2 separate regions of the Homo sapiens genome follow, and region 1 is linked to region 2. Evidence: promoter capture Hi-C in 16 types of primary human blood cells and fetal thymus (Javierre and others, 2016). All regions are on one chromosome and are shown on one strand. The core of a region is centred on a gene start or on the middle of the fragment in contact, and the rest is flanking DNA. Distances in the headings are between cores, read along the strand shown.

What was found. Contacts are between HindIII fragments. The CHiCAGO score rates a contact against its expected background, and 5 or more counts as called.
Region 1: a fragment that was not itself captured here is called in contact with the fragment with the promoter of STK24 in region 2 in 1 of 17 cell types (activated CD4 T cells); the score reaches 5.9 in activated CD4 T cells.

The regions. Positions count from the first base shown.
Region 1 is chr13:100,580,779-100,587,213 of GRCh38, reverse strand. It overlaps GGACT (gamma-glutamylamine cyclotransferase), which reads left to right. Exons shown (of 3, transcript NM_001195087.2): 2 at 3,217-3,389. Among named protein-coding and RNA genes, the nearest start is that of GGACT, 4.8 kb to the left of the region's middle. The HindIII fragment of the contact is 1,462 bases long and covers 1,923-3,384 here.
Region 2 is chr13:98,574,026-98,579,837 of GRCh38, reverse strand. It overlaps STK24 (serine/threonine kinase 24), which reads left to right and starts at 2,731. Exons shown (of 11, transcript NM_001032296.4): 1 at 2,731-3,093. The coding sequence starts at 3,052. It overlaps STK24-AS1 (STK24 antisense RNA 1), which reads right to left and starts at 2,583. Exons shown (of 1, transcript NR_046542.1): 1 at 997-2,583. RefSeq lists an enhancer at 2,018-2,207 and silencers at 2,298-2,447, 2,468-2,777, 2,828-3,697, 5,162-5,221. The HindIII fragment of the contact is 9,197 bases long and covers 1-5,812 here.

The DNA.
Region 1 (6,435 bases), core at 1,404-3,903, 2.0 Mb before region 2:
CCATTCTTGAAGTGAAGTCATTGGGAGGCTTTGTATCCACCTCGAGCCAGGGCCCTTACCAGTGATTAGGACACCAGCAGGCTGGTGTGGAAGTGTAGTGCAGCCATGCTTGAAGAGGGGACAGGACCCAAGGAAAGGTGACAGTAAGAGGACAGAAACACGAAATATTCGCAGCCCTCTTTAGAACATCCTCCATCTAGGCAAACTCTATTAGGAATTTTAAGAGTTCTCAATTAAACATGACTGCCCAGTGTCCTGCTGAACAGGAATTCATTCTTCAGTTGAAGCTCTATTGTCAGTAAAACTACTCAGGATAAGGCAGCCGTGTTTAGGCCGTGAGGACCTGCCCCTGGACTGCGGAGCTTGCTCCGTAAAAGGCATCGTGATACCCCCTTAAATGGATTTACAGAAAAGACTTAGCTATTGGAAGTCTCTGGGATTGTATGGCATCATGAGGTAACAGACCTGGTAAATAGCTAGAACGTAGCGAAGAATGAAACCAGAGGCAGTGTGCTGTTGGAACTGAGAGGTGAGTGCTCACTGGAGGGCCAGGAGAAGGTCACAGTTGGGGAGACCTTAAGCAGAGAACAGATTTTTATAGGCACAGGAATGGAAAGGGTGGCCAACACCATGAGCAAAAATAAGAAGCTGAAAATGACAGTGTGTTCAGACAAAGGTGAACAACTGGCGTGCTGAGGCTGGACTCCGCGAGAGGAGGGGTGGGGTCGGGGGTGGGGGTGCCTGGAAAGCAAGGCTCTCCAGTGATAACCTCTACATTTTGATCAAGGTTCTGATTTTGTTTGTTTGTTTGTTTTGCTTATTGGGAAAATTTTAAGCAAACATAAAAGCCCAGCAAAGTAGAATGAATTTCCATATATCCATCAAATGGACTTCACAAGTCTTGTTTGGCCATATCCACTTCATCTTTTTTTTTCTTTTTTTGGTTGTGGCTGAAGCAGTTTAAAGCAGTTTATTCCAGACAACATAACACTTCACCCCTAAATTGTTCAGTATGTTTCTCCAGAGAAAGGGCATTTGCTTGTGTAACCATAATACAATTATCACCTCCTGATGAAATTGACAATAATTCCTTAACATTTTCTAAAACCTAGTCCATGATCAGATTTCCCTGATCACCTCAAAAATGAACTTATTTTTACTGTTGGTTTGTTTGAATCCACATCCAGACAAGAATTTGTTGACTGTTACCTTTTTATTTTATTTTATTTTTTGAGACAGGAACCAGCTCTGCTGAGATCATGGCTCACTGTAACCTCGAACTCCTGGATTCAAGCCATCCTCCCACCTCAGCCTCCTGAGTAGTTGGGATTACAGGCATGTGCCACAATGCCCAGCTATTTTTTTTTTTTTTTTTTTTTTTTTTTTTTTTTGGTGGAGACAGGTATTGCCCAGGCTGGTCTTTTTTTTTTTTTTCCTTCCTGAGACGGAGTCTCACTCACTCTTGTCACCCAGGCTGGAGTGCAGTGGCACAATCTTGGCTCACTGCAACCTCCGCCTCCTGGGTTCAAGTGATTCTCATGCCTCAGCCTCCCAAGTAGCTGGGACTACAGGCGCATGCCACCACACCCAACTAATTTTTGTATTTTTAGTAGAGACGGGGTTTCACCATGTTGGCCACACTGGTCTGGAGCTCCTGAACTCAAGTGATCCACCTGCCTCTGCCTCCCAAAGTGCTGCGATTACAGCCGTGAGCCACCGTGCTCAGCTGTTGCCCCTTTCAATCTAGGGCAGGGGTGGCAGATGTCTCTGTGAAGAGCCAGATACCAGCTCTTTCAGGCTTTGCAGGCCCTATGGTCTCTGCCACAACTGCTCAGCTCTGCCATCGTCATGCAGAAGTAGCCAGGGGTGATAGTAAATGGATAAGCATGGCTGTGTTCCAATAATACTTAATTTCCAAAGCTTTTGTGTTTTAAAATCCACCCACAGGCTGGACTTACCCGCAGGCTGTGGTTTGCCGACCCAAGTCTAGAGCAGCCTTGGCGGGTTTCCTCAATACCAATGACTGTCGATGTTACTTGGTTGATTGCCTGTAGGGTGCCTCACACTCTGGATCTGTTGGGCTGCTTTTCGTGGAGTGTGGTTTGGCTTGCTTCTCTATCCCCTATATTTCCTGTAAACTAGAAGTTAGATCTAGAGGCTTAATTAGGTTCATGCTTGCCATTTTTGGCAAGTCTACTTCAGAAGTGGTTTGACTTTTTTTAAATCTAAATTTATCTGACTTTAAAGACTTGGAAACCCTCATCAAAGAATCAAAGAAGCTCAACATTACCAAAATAGGAGCTCAGCATTACTAAAATTGGCTTTGCCTGATGGCTGAGAAGACATTTTTTCTTTTTCTTTTTACTTTTCTTATTTGTAGGAGAGTATATAGAGCTGTTATTTCTCAAATAGTTCTTTTTTGATAGTTAATTTTTGTGGGTACCTAGTAATAGGTGTATATGAGATACAATGTGTAATAATAAACCCTCATTACAAGGTATATGAGATACAATGTGTAATAATCACATCAGGGTAAATGGGGTATCCATCACCTCAAGCATTTATCTTTTGTGTTACAATCTAACGATACTCTTAGTTATTTTTAAATGTATAGTTACATTATTACTGACTATAGTCACCCTGTTGTGCTATCAAATACTAGATCTTATTCCTGCTTTCTGTGTTTTTGTACCCATTAACCATCTCTGCTTTCCCCCAACCCCCCTACTACCCTTCCTAGCCTCTGGTAACCATCATTCTGATCTCTATCTCAGTCAGTTCAATTGTTTTAATTTTTGGCTCCCACAAATGAGTAAGAACATGCAAAGTTTGTCTTTCTGTGTCTGGGTTATTTCACGTCACATAACGACCTCCGGCTGCACCATATTGTTGCAAATGACAGGATCTCCTTTTTAATGGCTGAATAGTACTTCATTGTGTATATGTACCACATTTTGTCAAGGAGGTCTTGAGAACTTTGAACCCTTTCTCTAGGTCACTGGGAAGGTTCCTCTATTCAAGGCATTCTTTGGCCCCTCAAGCATGTGGACTGCATTTTTGCACTGAATATAAGTATATTCCTTCCCTGGGTATGTGCCCAGGGTCTGAGATTGCCTTCTAATGGTAGTTAGGTCATTTATGTTTGTTTGTAAGCCCCTTATTGCTTAAATGTTTAACTTTCTTCAGTTGACTTCCTCTTATCTCACCTCCCAACAGGACTGAAAACTGGATATTTGGTCCCCATGGACTTTCTGGTCACCCTGTGAAGTGGACTTAACTTTTTCTTGAATCATGTGGAAGGATTCTGAAGTCAAAAGTTTTTAAGACTCTCAGGCTTACTGTGGATCTGGATTCTAAGGCAACACTTCCTTGAAGAAACAAGCTTACAGGTGAGAACTGTTAGCCTCTGTTCTAGAGTGTTCATTGCTCAAATTCTAGAGCACCACAAGAAGTATGCTGACAAATAGTGCCAGTTGGAAGCCCTTGTCTCTTTGTCATTTAAGAATAGTAGTGGTGGGGAGCCAGGTACGGTGGCTTGTACTGTAATTCCAGCACTTTAGGAGGCTGAGGCAGGAGGATTGTTTGATCCCAGGAGATTGAGGCTGCAGTGAGCTGTGATTACACTGATTATGCCATTGTGCTCCAGCCTGGGCAACAGAGTGAGACCCTGTCTCAAAAAATTAAAGGAGGAGGGAAAGGGAAGGAAAGAATAGTAGAGAAAGTGTATATTCATTTCTTCATCTGTTTTTCTCTGGGGTTGTCTTTTGATTTATAAGAATTATTTATACATTGAGAATACTAATCTTTTGTCATACGTACTATAACTATTTCCACCCTATTTTTTGTACTTTGTGTAATACAGTCTCTAGGCTTTGCAAAAAATTTTAATTTTATGTACTTAAAAATATCGATCTCCCCTTTATAGTGTCTTTGTTTTGTGTTTTGCTTAGAAAGACTTGCCCATTTTAAGGTTTCTTTTAAAAATTCGTGTTAACACAGATAAATGAAAATGTAATGAGAGCTAGGAACATGTGATTCTGAAAAAGATTATTGAAGGGGGAGTATTTCCAGACAATAAATACCAAACTAATGTTGGCATTAAGATTGGCCGTATGTTGCTAAGTGTTGAAGTTGGGAGATGAGTATTTGAGAGTTCCTTCTATCATTACCCTAGTTTTGTACATATTTTACTTTCCATAACACAGTTTTTTTTACCAAGAAAAAAATAGCAGGGGGAAGTTATATCTTTGTCCCATTCATTCATATTCAGCAGCTATTTATTAAGCTATTCTGAACACTGGAGGGTATCATGTTAATGAATGAAAAAGGTGTTGGAATTTCTATTATGTGGGAGACAAATATTAGCATCATGGTTAAGGGCACCAACTTCTGTGTCAGACCGCCTGGCTTCTCGTCCTGACACTGCCACTTACTAGCTGGGTGATTTTGGACTTTTTAATTAAAAATATGTGTATAATAACAGCTGTCTGGAGGCTCTAGGGAGAATCTGTTTTCTTCCTTTTTGCAGCTGCTAGAGGCCACCTGCATTCCTTGGCTTATTGGCCCTTTCCTCCATATTCAAAGCTAACAATATTACCCTTCTCTGACCCTGCTTTTGTCGTCACATCTGTCTGATCTGATCCAGGGCAGGTTTTCCAGTTTTAAGGATTCCTCATTTGATTAGATTGGGCCCACTTGGATAATCCAGATTGATCTCTGCACCTCAAGGTCCTCACATCTGTGAAGTCCCTTTTGGCATAGGAGTTAACATATTCATAGGTTCCAGGGATTAGGATGTAAACATCTTTGGGTGGCCATTATTCTGCCAACCACAGATTTGAGGAGACAAAAGAAGGTGAATGTGGCTGAGTCCTTGGCAGGGAGGAGATGGGACTGGAGAGGGAGCCAGGGAGAGAGGATTCTGTAGGTCATCATAAGTTTTGAAGTTCCTCCCAACAGTAAGAGGAAGTTATGGTCAGATTTATTGCCCCAAATCTGAAATCAGCTGTTTCTCCAAGGAGCCCTGGTTAGCTGTTTTAAAGTGAAAAATGGTACTTAAAGGCCATAATCTGGCCCTAATAAGGTGCTCATTGCTGTTGGATTGGCAGTTGTTTTTAAGCCATTTCAACAGACAGAGACAGGGAAAACCATTGTTCAAGATAAAATATTTCATGAGCGCATACTGGTAACATCCAAGTCTTTTTCTGGACTACAACGTTTTTGCTTAATGTCATAGAACTTATATCCATACCCCTTTCTTCCACTCCAGAAATCTCAGTTCAGAACAACCCAGCATAATTTATTATTTGCTTTAGCCCTCACCCCACAGAGTCACTGCCACAGGGGTGTGGGGATTGGGAGGAAGACCATGGAGATAAAGTGTCATTTTTGCTACATCGTATCAAGCACACATACTGTCTACATGACTTCTCTCTTTTGCTGTTGATCTTGATTACCTGACTGAAATAGTGATTGGCAGGTTTCTCCACTGTAAAGTCACACTTTCCCCCTCCCTTCATACTGTGCTCTGAAAGGAAGTCACAGTGAGCAGCCTGCACTTCTGAAGGGAGGAGTTATTTAGGCTTCATCTCCTTAAGGGGAAAGTGTCTACATATGTTATTTGGAATTCTTCCGTGCAGGAGGGTTATCTGTTTTCTTGCATTTATTTACTCAGCCATTTATATCATTATGGACTCACAGATACTTATATTATACTTTAGGTTCTAATCCAATACTCCTTATTTTGTTCTCCAGTTGTTCCTGCTTTGGCCATTGGGAGCCTGTTCCATTGTCTCTTGTGTCCTTTCAACTTGTCCCATCTTTGTGGGCTGGTGGGTTTGTTTATTTTTGAGCACTTCCTTGCTTTCCAATATTGCTAGATGCCCTAGATTGATCTTGTGTATTTCCTGCTTCAGTCTTAGGTTCAGCCGTTTCTCTGGGGAACCCTGGTCCCCTCTGTTGGAGATGGTGTTAGAAACCACAAGCTGGATGCTGGTGTGCTCATTTCGACTGTGGTGGCATTGCTTTTAGGTCCTCTCAGCTGATGGAGCAAGGAAATGTCTGTGTGTACTGACCTGTGTATATACACATATCACTAAATACTTCTGTATGGAACCATTTGTTTCTGTGAGTCCACACTGGTGTCTCCAGCCCTAATCCTTTACCCCGTGGATCACTCTTGCGTTTTCCCTGCTGTCTCTCACCTCCCATTCCAACAGTGAGAAACGTGGCTCCCATTGCCTGTGGCACATTTGCCTACTTGTTCAGTACATATGTGTGTATCACAGTGTTGGAATTGCCATCTCGCCCTATGGGAACCACTTAAACAACGAGAGCCCGGTTTTTATGAATATACACAGTTCCTTTTGCCTTTAGTCTTGTAACTGTAGACTGGGCCAACAGGTGAAAGTTTCTTTGGGCAGGCTGAAATGAGAT
Region 2 (5,812 bases), core at 1,482-3,981:
AGAGGCACCTGAGGATCTAATGTTTATATGCCCAGTACTGAACTGGGTATCTGACATGTATTAATAGTTGGTATTCAAAAAAGGTGTGAATGAATGAACATAATAGGCAATTGCACCGGATCTGATCCCGGGCTCAGGCCCTGTGCATCATCTCTGTTGTGCAAAAACAAATAAGGTGGAGACCTACTTCTGCCATGGGGAATACTCGGTACTACCTGCATAGGGCCAAGGAGAACCAGTAACTCCCATGTTGCTTCCTTCCCTTCTTTCGATAAGAATGGTGCTCAACAGTATGAACATTGTCAAAGGATGAAACAATGGTCAGTGTGGAGAGAAGATAAACAGGGTTCGGGGCAACAGACCAGCTAATGGATGCAAGTCACTGTGTCCAGAGAAGTTACATCCTGCCGGAATCTCCCTGTTTTGAGCCTCACTAGCCTCAGGACACAAACTAGGATTCCGGTTATTTTTTTATACCCAGGGTACTATGGGCCTTTGTCCCCCATCTGCTGTGACTTATTTGCTGGCAATTAGCCCACTGCAAAGTGATTTCTGAGCATTTACCATGGTAATGTCTCAGATCAGCATCCAGACATTTCCATCCATTCATCTAGTTTCTTGCTCTTTATCTTGGTGCCAGGTTATTGCCCTGGCTCTGCTGACCCTAGAAGAATATTTTTACTGTCCCTTTTCTATGCTTAGACATGTTTAGATCCACAAATATTTACCATTGTGTTATAGTTGCCTCCAGTATTGAGTTCAGTCACATGCTGTTCAGGTTTGTGGTCCAGGTGCAATACGTCATACCATATAGCCTAGGTGTGTAGTAGGCTATGCCATCTAGGTTTCTGGAAGTACACTCTATGATGCTCACGTGACAAAATCAACTAAGAACACATTTCTCAGAATGTATACCCATTGTTAAGCAATACATGACTGTGTGTCTGTAGGCCATATATATTAATATATATATAGTCATTTGAGATCAGTCTATATACAGTGTTTTGTACCCTGTATTTTCTTTAATAATATATAATGAATACATTTTCCCCATTACTAGGTACTGAAAGACATAATTTTAAATGACTACATAGTACTCGTATGAAAATGCTATTATTTACTTAACCTCTGTGAGACTTTTTGGCTGTTCCGTTTCCCCAGGATTCTAAACATCACTGTGTCTTCTTACATGCATTCTTCCACACTTCTTGGTTGTTGCCTTAGGATATGTTACTTTAGGTAGAATTCCTGGGCTGCGCTGAAGAATAGAAACATTTTAAAGATTCACATTCTTGCTTGTTTTGCTGTTCGCCTCTTTAGGTACCATATTTTTTAGGTGTACAAAATTTATACACCTGATTTTAAGTTCCTGGGTATCAGGGTTCATACTTCTCTTAATTTTGTATTTCCTTGCAGTCCTACTTACGGGTGGCAGGGCTCCTCAAGGGATGGGTGTACCAATGACAACCATGAAAGTATTCTAAGGTATTCCCTAGGACTCCGAGAAAAAACATGCATCTTTCCAAAGGGAAAGAAGGGATTAGATGTTAGCATCCTACTCCATGTCAGATCCAGAGCACCCGGGGGAACTGAAGTTCGTGGATGGAATACAATGACACCTCAGAAAAGAAATACTCCTTTGGTGGAGGCCTTTAAACTTTTGGGGGCTCATTTTGTCTGCCTAACTCGCCCAGCCAGGGCGCAAAATGGCCACTTAGGAGCATGAGTGAGGTGCCAGCGTCCCTACAATCTAAGGAGCAGGGAGTCATCACTGGGGTGGCTGCCGCTCTACCTGTTTGCGACTGTAATAAAACACCTTCTGGAGGCCGAGGGACCCGCTTCATCCTGACTTTTCCCCTCAGTAGCTAGAGAGAAGGCGGCTGAAAAGAGGAGACAGAACTGGTGCTGAGTGGGCCTGGAGCTTCCGAGGCAAGGGAAAGAGGGAGAGGGCTGCAGTTCAAAGTCCAGACGCGCTTTCCTTCCATTCTCTTCCCTTCCTCCCTGCCCTCTGCGCCCCATTTTCCCCTTATCGTGGGTGGGGGCTTCTGATTTGCTGCGGATCCCAGAGATGGTGGGGTTCAGCCTCCGCACTGCTTAGCTAAGTTCCCAGCCCAGCAGTCCCAGCCGGGCTGTTTTCGGTAACCAAAGCACTAGGAATTAACCTCTCTCTCGGCCTCTTCCCTTTCGGTTTCCTTCTTGGGTTGGCTGGAAACTTCACCCAGACACCGAAGCAGCTCTGCCCGGCCTTTTGGCACAGGCCACCGGCCGAGGCCCCACGGGGCGCTCTCCTTCCCCAGGTGCCCCCGACTCCGATCCTGCCCTCAGGGGCTCGCCCGGGACGCGTTTTCCCAGAGGCCGCCGGGGCGGGGTGGGCTGGCTGGCGGGAAGAGGGGGCCGCGGCCCAGGCTCGCCCCGGCGCCGGCCCGGTGGGCACGCGGCCAGCCTCCGGCCCCGACTCGGTCCCTCCCGGCGCCCGCCCCAGCCGAGGCCCCCTCCCGGCCCCGCCGCCCGCCCGCGGGGGCGTGGGAGCGCCGCAGGAGCAGCTGGGACCCGGGCCGGGCCGACAGGCGGCGGCTGCGGCCTAGGGCTCCCGCGCGGCCACCGGCCTCTCCCCTCCCCCTCCCGGAAGCGCGGGGCGGGGTCCCCGGCCGGGCCGTGGGGGCGGGCGCGGGGGCCGGGCCGGGGCGGGACGCGCTCGGCGCTCGCGGGCTCGGCGGGCTGTGCGCGCCCACTCCGGCTCCAGCGGCCAGCGCGCGCGGGCCCAGGCCGCCCGGCTCCAGCCCAGCAGTAGCGGCAGCAGCGGCGGCGGCGGCAGTGCGCGCGAGGCCCTGCGCCCCCAGCAGCTCCTCCCTGGCGCCGTGCATGGAGACGCGGCCCGCCACCCGCCGCTGAGCCCCCGCCGCCCGGCCGGGACCCGCCAGGGCTGGGGTGGCCTCGGGCTCCGGCCGGCCCCGCCGCCCGAGGGCTGCGCGCGGCCCGCGGGCCTCGCCGCCCCGCGCGGATCGTCGCGGCCCGGCCGTCCCGTCCCAGGAAGTGGCCGTCCTGAGCGCCATGGCTCACTCCCCGGTGCAGTCGGGCCTGCCCGGCATGCAGGTAGGCGGGCGCGGGCCGCGGGGCCGGGATGCGCGACCGGGGCGGAAGCAGCAACTTGGCGGTATCCACACGGCGTCCCCCTACGCTCAGCCGGCCGGGGTCGCGCCGGAGCCTGGCTCCCCGCGCGCCCGGCTCGGCCGGGGGTCCGAGTCCGAGTCCCTGGGCGTCCCTGCCGGCTCCGGCGGCCGAGGTCTCCGGCGTGTGCGTGCAGGAGCCGTAGGAACCGCGGCCTGGGTCCGGATGTGGGGGTGCGGGCGCCTAGTCCTCCGCGCTCCCCTCGCCCCAACACTCTTCCGGAGCTGCAGGCCCTGGGTGGCCCTGTCCCCGGGAGAAGTGAGGTGGAGTGATGCCCTTGGAGGCCCCCGCCGGGTCCCGGGGCCCTGCGTGGTGGCCGGGTTGGCGGAGGGCCCCAGGACGCGTCCCCCAGGCTCGTCCCCCACCCCCGGGCAGGCGGGCGGGAGACCTGGGCAGGGCGGGGACGGGGAGCGCGCCTGGACTCGTCCGGGCCCGAGCGGAGTAGGCAGGGTGGAGTGGAGGAAGGTAACCGCGAGTTCCACTTGCAGTGGCTTTGCCCGGAGCCCCCGTGCACCTGCGGACCGGGGGAAAGTGCGAGTTGCAAACCTTCTGGAAGGAGGAATCCCTCGGACAGCCGCGCACCAGGGTCCCGGGCCCGGCCCCGGGACCCTGGACTTTCACTTTGAGACTTGGTTGCATTTACAGGAATTCTTCGCCCAGTAAACCTCTCTTTCGGTACTTGGTGACACCTTGGCCTACCAGTGACTTTTTGGGGAGTGGGAGAGGAGTTGAATTTCAAATTTACATGTATAAGTTAAAGGTTTTTTGTTGTTGTTGTTTTCGTTGTCGTTGCTTTTAGCCCTTTGAAAAACAAAGCTACCGTCCTTGGCTAACTCTTGTAAACTTTGTAGGCGCAGAAATGGTGGCAAAATGCTTAGGATGGAAATCTTAGGATGCAGTTAGGATATGTCATGAAAGTTTGCTCTGCCAGTTTAGCTGAGTGAACGTTAAGTGTTTGAAGAAAACCAAAAGCATCCAAGTAGATTACTGGTTGATTTACAGGTACCAACAGGCTCCTTCCCTGTGTCTTGAGGGCTGAGAAGCACAGAGCCCAGACCTGGGACTGCCTCTGGGGTCTGCTCGCCTCTTCCAGTGAGATCATCCCTCTCCCTTCTTTTTTTGAAACCGTAAAAAGAAAACTGGATTTCACTGTTCAGGTTTGAATTCTGGAAAAATAGGAACTCAAAGTTACCACTTTAATGGCAGCTAGAATTTTAGTCCAAGTGTGTGTGTGTGTATATGTGTGTGTGTGTGTGTGTGTGTATATATAAGCAGTATATATATGTGTGTATATATGTTTAAGCAGTAAATAAATATACATTTAAGCAGCAACAGTTAAGTTATTATCTTAAGAGTGACTGGGAAGATGCTTGAAGAATATTCTTTTGTCGACTCTCATTTAAGGAGCGTTGAATTTAGCATGCATTCAAAACCTAAACTTCTGCTGACTGCTGGGTAACAATCAGATGTGGTTTCTTGGTATTTTCTAAAGCCGCTTTGGTATGAATTTAGAGGTGTGTAGGTCAGAGTGAACTGGGTGAAAAAAGTAATTTCTTACTAGTCGAGCAAGAAAGGACTCTTGTAATGATTTAAAAAAAAAGTTTTATCAATATTTCCTTTAGGTTGATATTTATACCGTGTTCATCAGGTTGGAATCTAGCACAAATGCCTCACTTACTAGGTTAATTGGCCTTTGTGGATAGCGAATCAGTTTGAAAAGGTACTAAAGCCCCTTTGGCTGGTGCCGTGAAGTCAGTATCAGATGGTTACCAGGTGATATCTAGTATCTCACCTTTTCATTTTTATCCTCACTTTTTTTTTTGAGTGGGTCAGAATTCTTAAACCTTGGGAAAAGAAGATACATTTCCTTAATAACTTTGCCTCTCAACTATTATGTATCTGTTAGGTTGTGTTACATGGGAACTGTTTTTATTTTGTTTTCTCAGTATGAAAGATCTTAAGTGTTTCTCAGTGGAAAAGATGATCAGATTTTCAGCTGTTACAGTTTTACAGTTTTAGAGGTAGGTAAGTTGGCTTCTGCCAGTCATTCCTGTACCTAAGTACATCTACAGACTGTATGGTAACAGTGTATCATTTGGGGAAGAACATTCTTTTCTCCTCCCCCACCCCACAAAAGAAAAACAACAGCACATTTATTTTCTACTTCAAATTAGCAGTTGCTACTGCCCTGGGAGGCTTCCCTAAGAGTTGTTGCTGAAGATTCAATTAAAAACACACCTGCTTTCGACTGTTGTCTGCTAAATGGGAGGAGAGAAGTCCGTATCTCTTCTATGGCTTGCTCTGATAGGCCTCATAGCCCTCCCTTTTTCTTGTCTCCTGACCAGGGCTTATAAGGAGTTGGCTTAGAAAGACAGCAGAGTCTGTAATCTCAGCAGTTTGAGAGGCCGAAGTGGGCGGATCATGAGGTCAGGAGATCGAGACCATCCTGGCTAACATGGTGAAACCCTGTTTCTACTAAAAATCCAAAAAATTAGCTGGGCGTGGTGGCACACGCCTGTAATCCCAGCTACTCGGGAGGCTGAGGCAGGAGAATCACTTGAACCCGGGAGGCGGAGGTTGCGTTGAGCTGAGATTGTGCCGTTGCACCCCAGCCTGGGCGACAGAGGCAGACTCCGTCTCAAAA